Regions from separate parts of the Homo sapiens genome. Here region 1 is linked to region 2. Evidence: promoter capture Hi-C in human tissues and cell types (Jung and others, 2019). All regions are on one chromosome and are shown on one strand. Each heading gives the region's core, a stretch centred on a gene start or on the middle of the fragment in contact. The rest is flanking DNA. Distances are from core to core; before and after follow the strand shown.

The links. The method cuts DNA at HindIII sites, captures the fragments that hold promoters and counts their contacts. A contact is called where the count stands out against the background at its distance.
Region 1: a contact is called between a fragment that was not itself captured here and the fragment with the promoter of FBLL1 in region 2, in 1 of the 25 tissues and cell types used here (spleen).

What each region holds. Positions count from the first base shown.
Region 1 is chr5:168,584,681-168,592,195 of GRCh38, forward strand. No RefSeq gene overlaps it. Among named protein-coding and RNA genes, the nearest start is that of PANK3, 9.1 kb to the left of the region's middle. The HindIII fragment of the contact is 4,965 bases long and covers 1-4,810 here.
Region 2 is chr5:168,525,251-168,532,222 of GRCh38, forward strand. FBLL1 (fibrillarin like 1) reads left to right here and starts at 4,055. Exons shown (of 1, transcript NM_001355274.2): 1 at 4,055-5,384. The coding sequence starts at 4,255. The coding sequence ends at 5,259. RefSeq lists a silencer at 3,214-3,508 and enhancers at 4,362-4,903, 5,759-5,928. The HindIII fragment of the contact is 8,115 bases long and covers 1-6,608 here.

The DNA of each region.
Region 1 (7,515 bases), core at 1,078-3,577, 58 kb after region 2:
GGCACCCACCACCATGCCTGGCTAATTTTTTGTATTCTTAGTAGAGGTGGGGTTTCACCGTGTTAGCCAGGCTGGTCTCGATCTCCTGACCTTGTGATCCGCCCGCCTCAGCCTCCCAAAGTGCTGGGATTACTGGGATTACTGGCGTAAGCCACTGTGCCCGGCCTAATATCTGCCTCCCAGGTTCAAGCGATTCTCCTGCTGCAGCCTCCTGCGTAGCTGGGACTGCAGTTGCCTGCCACCACGCCTCCCTAATTTTTGTATTTTTAGTAGCGACGGGGTTTCACCTTGCTGGCCAGGCTGGTCTCAAACTCCTAACCTCAGGTGATCTGCCTGCCTTGGCTTCCCAAAGTGCTGGGATTACAGGCATGAGCCACTGTGCCTGGTTTTTTTATTTTTATTTTTTTGAGACAGAGTTTTGCTCACCCTGGCATGAGCCATGGTGCCCAGCCCAGAGATTTCTTTCATCTCTACTTTTTGAATTTCACTAAGAACCTGTTCCCTTTTCAGGACCAATGTGAAGTGTGTTCAGTTCACTAAGAACCTGTTCCCTTTTCAGGACCAATGTGAAATGTGTTCAGCCATGTGTTTCCTAAAGTTTTCACCAGTGTGATTGAAACTGACAGGTCATCCTGTTTTAGTTTGTGGCCACTCTTCCTTCTGCAGCCTGCGTTGGCTTTCAGCCCCAGTCCCTCCTCCTAGCACCATCTGGTTAATTGCATTTTCTCTCTTTTCTAGCATGTCCTCAAAACCCATTCCTGGCAGAGTGAATGCAGGAGCTGGGAAAAGCATCTAAAGGGGCCAAGAGACTGTCTTCTTGTCTCAATATTTATTGTCTATGAAACACAATAAATCCAGCCCATCATGCAAAATGATAGAGGAGACCTGACACATCTTCATTTTGCCTTTACTGAGCGGGTATCCACAGAGACAGGTGGTGAGTTGTACCTAATGATGACTATAGGTCTCCTGGTATGAATAAACACACACACACACATGCGCACACACGCACACATGCACACATGCACACACACACACATACACTCACACCCTACACACCCTTCAAAGCCCAGATGAAGCTTTTAACAGCGGATTCTGTCTCTAATTAAATGGTCAAGAACATACTTCAGTCAGTCATTGGATCCACAAACTCAAATAAGCTAGGGGAGAACATCATGAATATTAGCATCCTCAGTCATCATCCTTGTCATCATCATTATCAGCAGCAGCAGCAGCATCGTCATCATCACTATCATGATAGTGGAAGCACAATTTAATTCAAAAATACTAATTAAGCTTGAACTATCTTCCAGGCACTGGAGTACTTGCTGGGGGTGGAGAGAGGTGAAAAAGAGAGAAACAATAATTAAGTTAACAAATCAATAAACAAGAATAGGCTATAATAAGTGATGTGAAGGAAATAGTCAGGTTGATGTGCTAAAGAGTGGCTGGGGCTGTGGAAGATTGGTTGGGGGTTCAGGCTTTATTCTAGATTGGATGGGCCAAGGAGGATAATCTCAGAAAGTGGCATTTAAGCTGGGACCCATGCAGATTGCTGGGAAAGAGTGTGCCCGACAGAGGTGTGACTGGTCCTGAAGGTAGATTTTTTTTTGAGGAACAGAAGCAGCAATGTGTGAGGAGTAGAGAGTGAGGTGTAAAGTGATAGGAGATTAATCAAAGAGTTGAGCTTGCTGGCCCTTGAGGGCCACCTGAAAATTTTAAGCAGGGAGTGATTTGTCCATGAATTTAGAGGATTATTTTGGCTGCTTTGTGGAGAATGACTGGATGGGAGAGGAGTTATGACTTGGAAATGAAAAGACTAAGAGACTCCCATCCTTCTCAACCCACACAGAGTCAGTCACCAAGTCTGAGGGGTTCCCGGAGCACTCCAGGCATTGTACAGGGACTTGAATCATTATGGGAGCAGCAGAGACGGGGAGAAGTGTTGGATCAAGAATTTCATTTAATAGTTGGGTGTGGTGGCATGTGCCTGTAGTCCCAGCTACTCAGAAGGTCAAGGCAGGAGGATCATTTGAGCCCAGGGGTTTGAGTCCAGCCTGGACAACATAGTGAGATGCCATTTCTAAAAAAAAAAAAAAAAAAAAAAAAAAAAAAAAAAGAGAGAGAGAGAGAAAAAGAAAAAATTAAGAATTTATGTCAGGTATTAGTGAAGGGTGAATATTAGTAAAGCTGAAAAAGGTTTGAAGAAGTTTACAAAAAAATGAACTTCATTTAATTCACGTTTATTGAGCTCTGACAATGCACCAGGCACTGTTCTAGGGATTAGGGATATGGAGATGAATGGGATAAGGCCCCTGCCCTCCTGGAGCCTACGCTCCAGAGACAACAAAGGTAGTAAACCAGTAGGCAGCAGTATAATATCATTTTAGATCATATAAATGCTATGAAGATGATACGGCAAGATAAGGGGACCAAGAATGATCGGGACTGTTTGAGATGGAGTGATTGTTGAAGATTAATTAGATTAGATGCATGGGTATGGGGAAAAGGAGGCAGGAAGTGTAGTAGGTTTTAGGGTTTGGGCTTGCACTTCAGAGGAGACAGGTAGTTGTGTCATTTACTAAGAAGGGAAGCCTGGAGAGTAAATAAGTGGTTGATTCTCCCAGCCACTCCTCAGCTCAGGTTGGGGATGCTAGGCATGTCTTGCCATAGGAGTCAGCTGGTTTCAGCAGTTGGTGATTTTCATCTCAGAGGCCCCCAGTGTGGGTGTCACAGACTTCTGCTCTGCCCAGGAATGCATCCTACCAGGCATTTCCTAGGGAGCAGGGAAGAGCCTCTCCCTGGAGTTCTCCTCTGCCTGCCGATCCCTGCCTCCTGGCACCTCCACCTCAATAGTCCAGTTTCATCATTCTCCCACTCCCTCTTCATTTCCCTAAAGGCCCTGTTTCAGCTGGTGGTTCCATCCACCACCCACTTGCCCAGCACAGAAAGTTAGGAGTCATTCTGGACTCCTCCTGCCCCGTCACAGTGCACATCCAACCAGTCACCGAGTCTTCCTGCTGTTACCTTCCTGTCTCTTCCTTTCCGTCCAACCTCACTGCTCTCAACTGAGCACCAGCCTCTGCGTCTCTCATTTATACTCTTAAAGACCCTTTCTGGTGGGCATGGTGGCTCATACCTATAATCCAGCACTTTGGGAGGCCGAGGCTGGTGGATCATTTGAGGTCAGGAGTTCGAGACCAGCCTGGCCTACATGGTGAAACCCTGTCTCTACTAAAAATACAAAAATTAGCCAGGCATGGTGGCACGCACCTGTAATTCCAGCTACTCAGGTGGCTGAGGCAGGAGAATCGCTTGAACCCAGGAGGCAGAGGCCGCAGTGAGCTGAGATTGCGCCACTGCACTCAAGCCTGGGCGACAGATCCAGACTCCATCTCAAACAAACAAACAAACAAACAAGACCCTTCCTGGCAGGTGTGATGGCTCATGCCTGTAATCCCAATGACTCAAGAGGCTGAGGTAGCTGAGGCAGGAAGATCAGTTGAGGCCAGGAGTTCGAGACCAGATGGGGCAACATAGCAAGACTCTGTCTCTAAAAAATAAAAAAAAAGACCCTTCTTGCCTCTTGCCTGCCTTTATCTGACCCACCCTCTTTACCCATGCCAGAGAGAGTTTTCTCAATAGCAAACCAGAATGTATCATTTTCAGGGCTTAGGACCTTGTCTCTTCCTGACATGTTGTCTTCAAGATAAAAATCCCAGCTCCTGAGCCTAGGGTATAAGACCAGTCATGATTGGCCTCTGTGTATCTCTTTAGCTGCATCTCATGCCTCTACTCACCCTTCATTATATGTTCCAATCAGACAAAAGCAGCTTCTAGCAAACTAAATGCTTGCTGCTGCCTGATGTCCTCACTCCTTTCACAAGTGGAAGACTCTCTTTTTGAGTTTCATTGAACACGTTTTTCTACTTTAAAACCCAACCTAGAAATCCCCTCCTCCAGAAAAGCTTCCTCTCTTCTATGCTACTTCTGGTCCCTGCATGTGCTTCTAGTTTTCTCACTCACTGCAAAATAATACAGTGATCCGTTTACTTGCCTGTCTCTTTCACTGCCAGATGAGCTGTTTGAAGGCTAGCATTGTGACTTATTCTGTTCAGTGTCCCCAAGCCTAGCAGGGGATCTGCCCCCATATGGGGACTTACAAATAATTAAATTGGATGGGTGTTGGCCCAGGTCCTTCAGATGCAACCTGGAAAGTCTTATTCTTGTAGAAACTTCTAGAAACATAATTAATGACAACAAAAGCAGTCTAGCACCTCTTGTAGGAATGAATCACGGTATTTTAGAAGGGTGGGACTAGACAGTGTGGCCTAGGAGCCATCATGTACTTCCTCACACGATGTTTAATCAGGGGCAGCTCTAATTACAGGTGGCCCTCTTCCTGGACTTGCGATGCCTAATAGTGTATTTATCAAGGCTTTCATCAGGTTAGAGTAGAGTGGTTAAAAACTAGGCATTGTAATCAGGCAGAATTAGGTCCCAATCCCTGATTGGTTGTGCAACTTTAGAGTGGTAATTTTGCTTCTCAGTTTTCTCATCTATAAAATGGGGATAAAAATGGCTCCCTTGCCATTGAGTCTTTGTGAAGATGAAATCACTTCATGCATCTAAAGTGTTCAACTCAGTACTTGGCATTGGGAACAAAAGAGTTGGCTTGATGTTGACTATTAGACAAAAATTCATGATGACATTTAAGTCTCAATGTAAGTATCACTTCTGCCTGCAAACAGATTAGTTTACTTTCTAAGATAGGTGCCTGCTTTACTTTCTCAGATAAGTTATTTATTTATTTATTTATTTATTTATTTATTTATTTATTTATTTTTGAGACAGTCTTGCTCTGTCGCCCAAGCTGTGGTGCTATCTCGGCTCACTGCAACTTCCGTTCCCCGGGTTCAGGTGATTCTTGTGCCTCAGCCTCCTGAATATCTGGGATTACAGGCATGCACCACCACACCCAGCTAATTTTGTAATTTTTAATAGAGACAGGGTTTCACCATCTTGGCCAGGCTGGTCTCAAACTCCTGGCCTCAATTGATTTGCCCGCCTCAGCCTACCAAAGTGCTGGGATTACAGGTGTGAGCCACTGTGCCCGGCCCTCATAGAACTTTAATACTTTTATTTATATCATTCATCACGATGTCATTTAGTCTGACATCCTCACTCAGCTCAGAAAGCTCCCAGAGGGCGCGGCTGTCTTTTTTATTGTTTACCATTGTGTTCCTAACTTTTAACACAGTTCCTGGTACAGAGACAGTTCCGACCGAATATTTGAATAAACAAAAGAATGAATAAGCAAACCTTTCCTAACGGCTGCTACCACTAAAGATCTTAGCATGGTGTGTGTGTGCGTGTGTGTGTGTGTGTGTGTGTGTGTGTGTGTGTGGTGGGGCTATTCAGTAAGGCTAGAAGTGAAAAAGCTAGTAGAAAGCCCATGGTGATGGAGAATGGAGGAAGACTGATTAGGGAGCTCCTCAGCAGTATAAGGAAGGACTAAGAGCACATAAGGACAGGATCATAGAATTCCGCATCTCAGGATTTTTGAGGCTGCCACTGCCTTAGCTGTGAGGCCAGTGCATATAAGAATAGTTTGCACAGTTCTGCTGTGGAAATCAGGGCTTTTACTGAAAGCTTAGCCAACTAGCCAGCAAGAATAGCTTTCTGGAACTTAGAGCCTTGTGAAAATTCCCAAACTGAGGATAATTCCAAAAAAGGTTTTCTTGCTGGCTTTGAAAAGTAGGATATACTTTTTAAAACCCCTTCTTCATCTATGATACAGATTATCTGACAGTTCCTGTGCAGAAGTCCACAGAAGGCAGGAAAGAAGGGGCCAGGAGTAAATCAGGTGCCTCATATGAAGACCTCAGCTAAGGAATAAGAAGAGTAAGAAAACAGCACGTCTTCAAATAACATCATTTCCTTCAACGCCGTTTCATTATGTTGATGAGAAAAAAAAAATCTCTTCCCAGCTGGGGCCACTGTCTGTGTGGAGTCTGCACATTCTCCCCAAGTCTGCATGGATTTTCTCCAGGTACTCTGTTTTCCTCTCACTAGGATACTATCCCAAAGATGCACACCTGAGGTTAATTGGTGTGTCTGAAAGGTCCCAGTGTGAGTGAATGTGGGTGTGTGCGTGAGTGCGCTCTGCAATGGGATAACGTCCTGTCCAGGGCTAGTGCCTGCCTTGTGCCCTGAGCTGCCAGGATAGGCCCCAGCCACCCAGGACCTTGAACTGGATTAATTGGGTAAATAATTCTCTTATCTCTTTTTATTAATCTTTCCTAAATGACTGTATAGCTCACATTTGTTTCAATGTTTAACTTTTAGAAGTGTTTTCAGTCTTTATGAGAAGTTTAGTGATGATTCTGTTACCAGAACTATGCCATAGGAATTTAACTCTTGTTAGTATCAATTAGCCTATGGCCAAATTGGTTTCCTTATACATCGTTTTGCTTGAAGTTGCGTTTCCAAGATTTTATTGACAATGTTAAGTGAGGACTTACTGTACAGCGTGGGGGTCAGGTTAGAGCAATGCTATTCAAAGTGTGGTACACAGATGGCTGCTGATCCCCAGACTGCTTTTGGCTTCCAACAAGATATGGAGCAGGAGGTAAGTCAACTGCATCACTAATCATACTGTTTGTAGTTCAGCTGGTATTTTCTTCACAGTAAGACTTTCTCCATGAAGGTAGCATTGCATTGATTTACATTTTGACCCAGGCTGTCACTGCCCTAGGCTTGGACCATTAACAAATAGTTCACTGTAAAGCTGCTTTGAGCAGCTCTGGTTTGGAGCATGGGCTTTGGAATCAGTCAGAGTGGGCTCTACCACTTAAGCAAGTTCCTTAAGCTGCCTGAGTTCCCTAGTAGGACACAAGGAAGAGTGTGGATTCTATTTCAAAAGCAATTCAAAGCCACTGGGAGGTTTCAAGCCCGATCATAAAGTTTCTTGTGAACCATGTTAGAGTTTGGACTTTGTTCAAGGAAAAGGGACCCACCAAAGATTTAAAAGCAGGGGAATGTCAGGATTAGAACTGTATTTTGGAAAGTTTACTCTGGCTGTGGTAAAGATAACAGCTTAGGCGGGACAGGAGGCAAAGAAACCAGCTAAGGGAAGGCATTCTGGTGGTGGAATGAGAGAATAAATGTAAGAATGAGTGAATTCATAGCATTTACTAGATAACAAGCTTCCTTGTGGCAGGAGCCTCACCACCTTTTGCTATGGATGTTCTTCAGCACAAACTTTCAGTTTTTGTGCAAGTCAATTTTTAATTAACATTTAACTGGCAAAAATGACTAGCTAATATAAAATCAAGCTAGATTCTCTGTCCATTCTAGAGAAGTTGAGCCTTTGTGAGCAAGGCTGATCTCGCTCATGATACAGAAGTCTGTCTCTTTTACCTTGTTTACTTTTTTCCTGTTTACCTTCACAGCCACTGATCCTCAAGGTTAGCAGATGAGTAAGTTTCCAATAGCAGCTGAACTGGAGTGATT
Region 2 (6,972 bases), core at 2,805-5,304:
CTTCCCAAAGTGCTGGGATTACAGGTGTGAGCCACCACGCCCGGCCAGAATTTTTTTTTTATGTATTGAGATGGGGTCTCACTATGTTTTCCAGGTTGGTCTCGAACTCCTGAGCTCAAGTGATCCACCCACCTCAGCCTCCCAAAGTGCTAGGATTACAGGCATGAGCCACTACGCCCAGCCCAAATTTCAGATTCTTATTCTATAAAATGAAGAATTACAGAGAATTTCTAAGGTGTCTTGTGGAAAGAAGACCTTTGCAAAAGTAGGCCAGCTAAGCTTTTTGAGCATTTCCTGAATGGCAGCCACTAATTCTACAGTGGGGAATGGAGTAAGAGTCTGAGCCACCAAGAGACGAAGTGTCCCCCAGCAGAAGTAATGGCCAAACAATAATGACATCCCAAATAAGGGATTTTAGCTACTTTCCAAGTCCCAGAGGCTACAAAAAGGGAGAAGATTCTCTTTTTCTAATTAATTAACCAGCTATATTAGATATATTATTGGGAGTTGACTAAGATTGTGAGTTTTAGTCGTGTTAGGAAGGAGGTATTATATTTTGTCTTGACGAGTAAATTTAAATATATGCACGCCAAACAGTAAATTTCACCTGAGGTGTTTGTGTTTGGTGCACTGATCCAGGTGTGCCAGCTGGCATTATGCAGTAGACACCTAGGTAAAAACATTTACTGTTCCCCAGTTATGGCACCCACATATCTCAGCTGCCTTTCAGCTAGGCAGGGCATGTGACTGGCTTTGGCCAGTCATCAGCCAGGAGGCTGAAGTGGGAGAATTGCTTGAGCCTGGGAGATCAAGGCTGCAATCCGTGGTGAGTAGAAATGATTGTGTCAAAGTCCAGACTAAACATACAAAAAGGTTGTGAGTTCTCTGCACTCTATTCTTCAGCAGTACAGTGGAGGCCCTCTTTTTTCTCATGTTGCAGCCACAAGATGTTGGGGCCTGAGTTCTTCAGTGGCTGTGTGGTGCAAACCTCCCGCTGACTCTCAGTGGACATAAAACATAAGAAATCTAAACATAGCTGTATTAATACATTGAGATTTTGGAGTTCTATGTTACTGCATCATAGCCCAACTCCTCTTGAGCAAATATAGCTGCACCTGTCACTGGGGTGGAGATCAGATCCCTACAGTCAGTCACCTTTGGAGGTGGACCATGGCTTAGAGAAAACAAGTTTCTTCATGCATGGATGCTTAAAGTATAATGAGAATGGAGATGGGGTTATAGAGTATTACCTCTGGTTTCATGTCAATCATGGCTAGTTACTCCTTGGGCAATTTGTTGGAATGGTTCTGTGAGAAAATAAGCAAAATTCCTCATGCATTTTTTAAGTCTATGGGAATGATTGATGTGCACTATGTCTACTACTGAGGCCTAGTCACAGATGTAATTATGATCATTACTTTAGGGCACATCTTCTGGAATAACAAGTCAATTGTAAACAAAAGTATACATGGTGCCAAGTGTGGAGGCTTGTGCCTAGAATTCCAGCAACTCAGGAGGCTGAGGCAGGAGGATGGCTTGAGGCCAGGAGTTGGAGACCAGCTTGGGCAACATAATGAGGTCTCATCTCTACAAAAAGTAAAAAAAAAAAAAAAAAAAATTGCCAGGCATGATGGTTTATACCTATATAGAAAGAAACCTGGCTGGCCACTGTGGCTCACACCTGTAATCCCAGCACTTTAGGAGACTGAAACAGGAGAACTGCTTGAGTCCAGGAGTTTGAGACAAGCCTGGGCAACATAGTGAGGCTCCATCTCTATAAAGAATAAAATTTTAGCCTGGTGTGGTGGCACACACCTGTAGTCCCAACTACTCAGGAGGCTGAGGTGGGAGGATTGCTTGAGCCTGGGAGATCAAGGCTGCAATAGCCATGATTGTGCCACTGCACTCAGCTTGGGTGACAGAGTGATACCCTATCTTAGAATAAAAAAAGAAAAAATAAAGCCCTTTTCTTTATAAATTACCCAGTCTCAGGTATAGAAACAAATTAAGACAGTGGATTAATGCCCCAGCCTCCAACCTGCAGTAGAACAATTCTGAGATGCCTTCCACACAGTTTCTCAGAATACTCACAGCAATTGAGCTCCCATTGTCCACTGTGGTCATCTACTCATTAATCTACCCTCTTTTTTTTTTTTTTTTTTTTTTTGAGACAGGGTCTCCCTCTGTCACCTAAGCTGGAGTGTAGTGGTGTGAGTTCAGCTCACTGCAGCCTTGATCTCCCAGGCTCAAGCGACCCCTCCAGCTCAGCCTCCTCAGTAGCTGAGGTACTACAGGTACTACAGTGACTACAGGTACTACAGTGACTACAGGTACACACCATGACACCTGGCTAAGTCTTGTTTATTTTTGTAGAGACAGGGTCTTGCTATCATGCTAGGACTGGTCTTGAACTCGTGGGCTCAATCAATCCTCCCACCTTGGCCTCCCAAAGTGCTGGGATTACAGGTGTGAGGCACTGTGCCCAGTTCTTTCTTAACCTTTCTATCTTCTCTATCTCATTTTTGCCTCCCCAACATGTGCTTCCTGGGATCACCTCACAAACCAATTGGACTCAAGGCTTTGTCTCAGGATCTCTATTATTCAAGGTTCTCCAAAGACACAGGCCTGTAGGATATATATATGTGTGTATATATAGGATATATATTGGCTCATGTGATTGTGGAGACCAGCAGGTCCAAAATCCGCAGGGCCAATGTCCCAGTCCAAAGGTTGTCAGGCAGAAAGAGCTGATGTGCCAGTTGAAAGGCCCTTGGGCAGGAGAATTCTCTCTTCCGTGGGGAAGGTCAGCATTTTGCTTTATTTCTGCCTTCAACTGATTAGATGAGGCCCAGCCACATCGTAGACGGCAATCAGCTTTACTCAATATACCAATTTAAATGTTAATCTCATCAAAAAACACCCTCACAGAAACACTCAGAATACTATTTGACCAAATATCTGGGCATCCCATGGCCCAGTAAAGTTGACACATAAAATTAACCCTCACAGACACCAAGTGTAGTTCATCATTTTGGAAAATATTCACCTTATAGCAAGAATGGAAACCTCTAAGTAGAGTATTTTATGTGAACCATTCAACCTCAGGAATCATACATTTCACTCACTGATCCCTTGTTCACATTCCAGTGTATAAAACTCTGGTCCCCATTAAGGAGACACTCCAGTCCTCAGGGAAAATCAGACCTGGCACTGTCGTCCATGAGTATGAGACGGGAAGAGCTGTGGTCCAGGATGGAACGGAAGTCATACTGCACATACCAGGTGTTCAGTAAATGCTCCGATCTTCAGGTGCGCGTTGTCTCTCTCTCTCTCTCTCTCGAGTAGACACTTAATTCAACTAACGGGAGGCTGGCCAGTTGTTTCACCACCTATCCTACTTTCCCCAGCTCTTGTGTGGTTCCCAAAGCCCCTAGCAGTAGCCAAAACGGGGGCCCCAACTGCTGTCGCTGTCCCTGGTGCTGACTAAACCCTAAAGCCTCTGCGTTGCGGCCTTGGGGCCATTGGTGGTGCCGAGTTATTCTTTTATTTTCTTTCTGTTCTTTTCTTTTTTTCTTTTCTTCTCGTTGCTGCCCTTGGTGCTGCCCAATTATTCTTTTCTTTTCTTCTCCTCTCCCTCTCTCTCTTTTCTTTCTCTCTCTTTCTTTCTTTTTCTCTTTTTCTTTCTTTCCTCAAGAAAATGCTGCAGATTTAGAGAGTGACTTTGAAGCATAGACTAGACTTCGAGGATGAACATGACATTTTGGCTCTCTGTGTATCCCCATTCACACTGAAGAATCAACAACACTTCCTTGCTGATCAATAGTCCCAGAACTGGTGGCACAGCCAGGACCGACGCTGATGCTTACCTCCCCCTCTCCTGCAGCAGAGACGCCCCCGTCCCTGTGGCCCAGGGAAGTGCCAGGGATCCCTGGGAAGGCGGGAGATGGGGAAGGGGCAGGGTGAGCGAAGAGGAGCAGGCTGCGTCTGCACGCGGGCTGGGAAGCGGGGCTTCCGGGCCGCAGGGTCGCGGGGACGGGTGTGATGCAATCGCGCCACAGCCGCTGCGTCAAGGGGCGGCTCCGGGATGCGGGCACTGCGGTAGAGCCCGTCCTGCCCCCGCCGCCCGCCGCCCGCCGCCCGCCTCCGCTGCTAAACCCGCGGACAACCGCCGGGACGACCACCCAGAGCCACCAGAGCCCCCTGACACCCGCCCCGAGGCACCGGTAACCCACGGCACCCGCCCCGGTGCGTGCCATGAAGTCGGCCGCGAGCTCGCGCGGGGGCGGTGGGGGCGGCCGCGGGGGCGGCGGCTGGGGCAGCTGGGGCGGGGGCCGAGGCGGCGGCGGCGGCGCGGGCAAGGGCGGCGGGGGCGACGGCGGCGGCCAGGGGGGCAAGGGCGGCTTCGGGGCGCGGGCGCGCGGCTTCGGCGGGGGCGGCCGGGGCCGGGGGCGCGGCGGCGGCGACGGCAAGGATCGCGGCGGCGGTGGACAGCGGCGGGGCGGCGTGGCCAAGAGCAAGAGCCGCCGCAGGAAGGGCGCCATGGTGGTGTCGGTGGAGCCGCACCGGCACGAGGGCGTCTTCATCTACCGCGGGGCGGAGGACGCGCTGGTCACGCTGAACATGGTGCCGGGCCAGTCTGTGTACGGCGAGAGGCGCGTCACGGTGACCGAGGGCGGCGTGAAGCAGGAGTACCGCACGTGGAACCCGTTCCGCTCTAAGCTGGCCGCGGCCATCCTGGGCGGGGTGGACCAGATCCACATCAAGCCCAAGTCCAAGGTGCTGTACCTGGGCGCCGCGTCGGGCACCACCGTCTCCCATGTCTCCGACATCATTGGCCCAGACGGCCTGGTCTACGCCGTCGAGTTCTCCCACCGCGCCGGCCGCGATCTGGTCAACGTGGCCAAGAAGCGCACCAACATCATTCCGGTCCTGGAGGACGCGCGGCACCCGCTCAAGTACCGCATGCTCATCGGGATGGTGGACGTGATCTTCGCCGACGTGGCCCAGCCGGACCAGTCCCGCATCGTGGCCCTGAACGCCCACACCTTCCTGCGCAATGGGGGCCACTTTCTCATCTCCATCAAGGCCAACTGCATCGACTCCACCGCATCCGCCGAGGCTGTGTTTGCTTCTGAGGTGAGGAAGTTGCAGCAGGAGAACTTGAAGCCTCAAGAGCAGCTGACCCTGGAGCCCTATGAGCGGGACCACGCTGTGGTGGTCGGGGTCTACCGACCTCTTCCCAAGAGCAGCAGCAAATAGCACCCAGCTCAGGCTCGCCTGCCATCTCCCCAAGGCTGCGTTGTGTTTGCTATTATTTTCTGTGTGTTTTCTTTGTGAGTGTTTTGTTTTGTTGTTTTTCTATTAAACTGCATAAAGAAACGGCACCTATCTGTATGGTGATGCCAGGCTAGGTTTTGCTGCAGTAACAATCAACCCCCAAATCCCAGTGGCCTAAACCGGCTGGTATAAGGGGCCCATCCAGCAGTAGCCTGGGAGCTGTGCTCATTCTAATCACTCAGGTCTCCAACTCCCCAGGGCCCCATTTTCACACATGCTCCCCCCATCCCTAGGGCAGAGGAAAGAGAGCTGCGGAATTGCTAATAAAAGCTTTTAAATGTCCCCTTGGAACTGATGGGGCACTTCTGCTCACATTTGGCCAAGTCACATGACCCAGCCTGACTCGGGAAAAACACTGAATGTTGGTGGACAATAATATAGTCAAACACACCAATCATCTGACTCACAGCCAAAGTCTTAACCACAATAGGTTTTTAGTATTTTACTCTTCAACTAAGCCCTTTTGCATTCACTGTTAAAGTGAATAATAAATAAATGTTAAATTTATTCCTCACACCAGCCCTGAGATGGCTTTGTTAGCACTTGCATATTACATGTGAAGCAACAGGGCTTCTGAAGGTAAACTATTTTGCCCAAACGTACATAGCCAGTAAGGAGGTAGAACTTAAATGCCAGTCTTCGGGGCTCTAAATCCATTGCTGTTTCCTCAGCACCAGGGGGATCTTGTCTCTGGTCCCCAACCCCTATGGCATGTGCACAGGGACACACTTAGAGCAGGGCCCTGTGACCTTATTGTGTTCTTTCGCCCTCCCCTGTCCCCCCCGGGCTACCCCTTTGTTTGGTTTCACAATAGCAAAACAAGATGCGGGGCAGATGTGGGTCTAGCTAGCAGACTGTCTCTACTACAGGGCATAACATACCCAAAGTGGTATCACCAAGTGTCTGCAGAACAGGCAGACAAATTACTCCCAGAAAGTATCTGTCTTTGCAAGGCATGTCCTGCACTTCCCAAGTTGCTGGTCTCAGTACCTCGCAGTCTCTCTCCAAAGCAGCCCAAAGGGAAGGGAGAGTGGGTAATCCGAGGAAAGCTGAGAATGCCCCAAAGGCCCAGTAAATCCCTCCAAGCCAGACTTTTCATTCATTCATGCATGCATGCATACACACTCCCAACTGCCAAAAAGACCCACATCAACATTTAGTCTTTGAATGATTGCTCACTAATGTATCATTTGGAGGGTGGATTTGCCTTTCTAAAGATGTGCTTGGGCAGCAATTGTGGTTAGTCTGCTTTTTCTGAGGGCATACTTCTTGAACAACAACAAAGGATAAATCAGACTTTTTATTTTTGTTTTATTTTATTTATTTTATTTGAGACAGGTCTTGCTCTGTCGCCAAGGCTGGAATGCAGTGGCGCAATCATGGCTCACTGCAGCCTTGAACTCCTAGGCTTAAGTGATCTTCCTGCCTCAGCCTACCACACCTGGCTAATTTAAAAAAAAAATGTTTGTGGAGAAACAGTGTCTCGCTTTGTTGCCGAGGCTGGTCTTGAACTCCTTGCTTCAAGAAATCCTCCTGCCTCAGACTCCCACACTGGGATTAGAGGCGTGAGCTATGGCACCTGGTCCAAATCAGACTTTTGAAAAGGCTGCCACTCTTTCACCACTCCCCCATCCT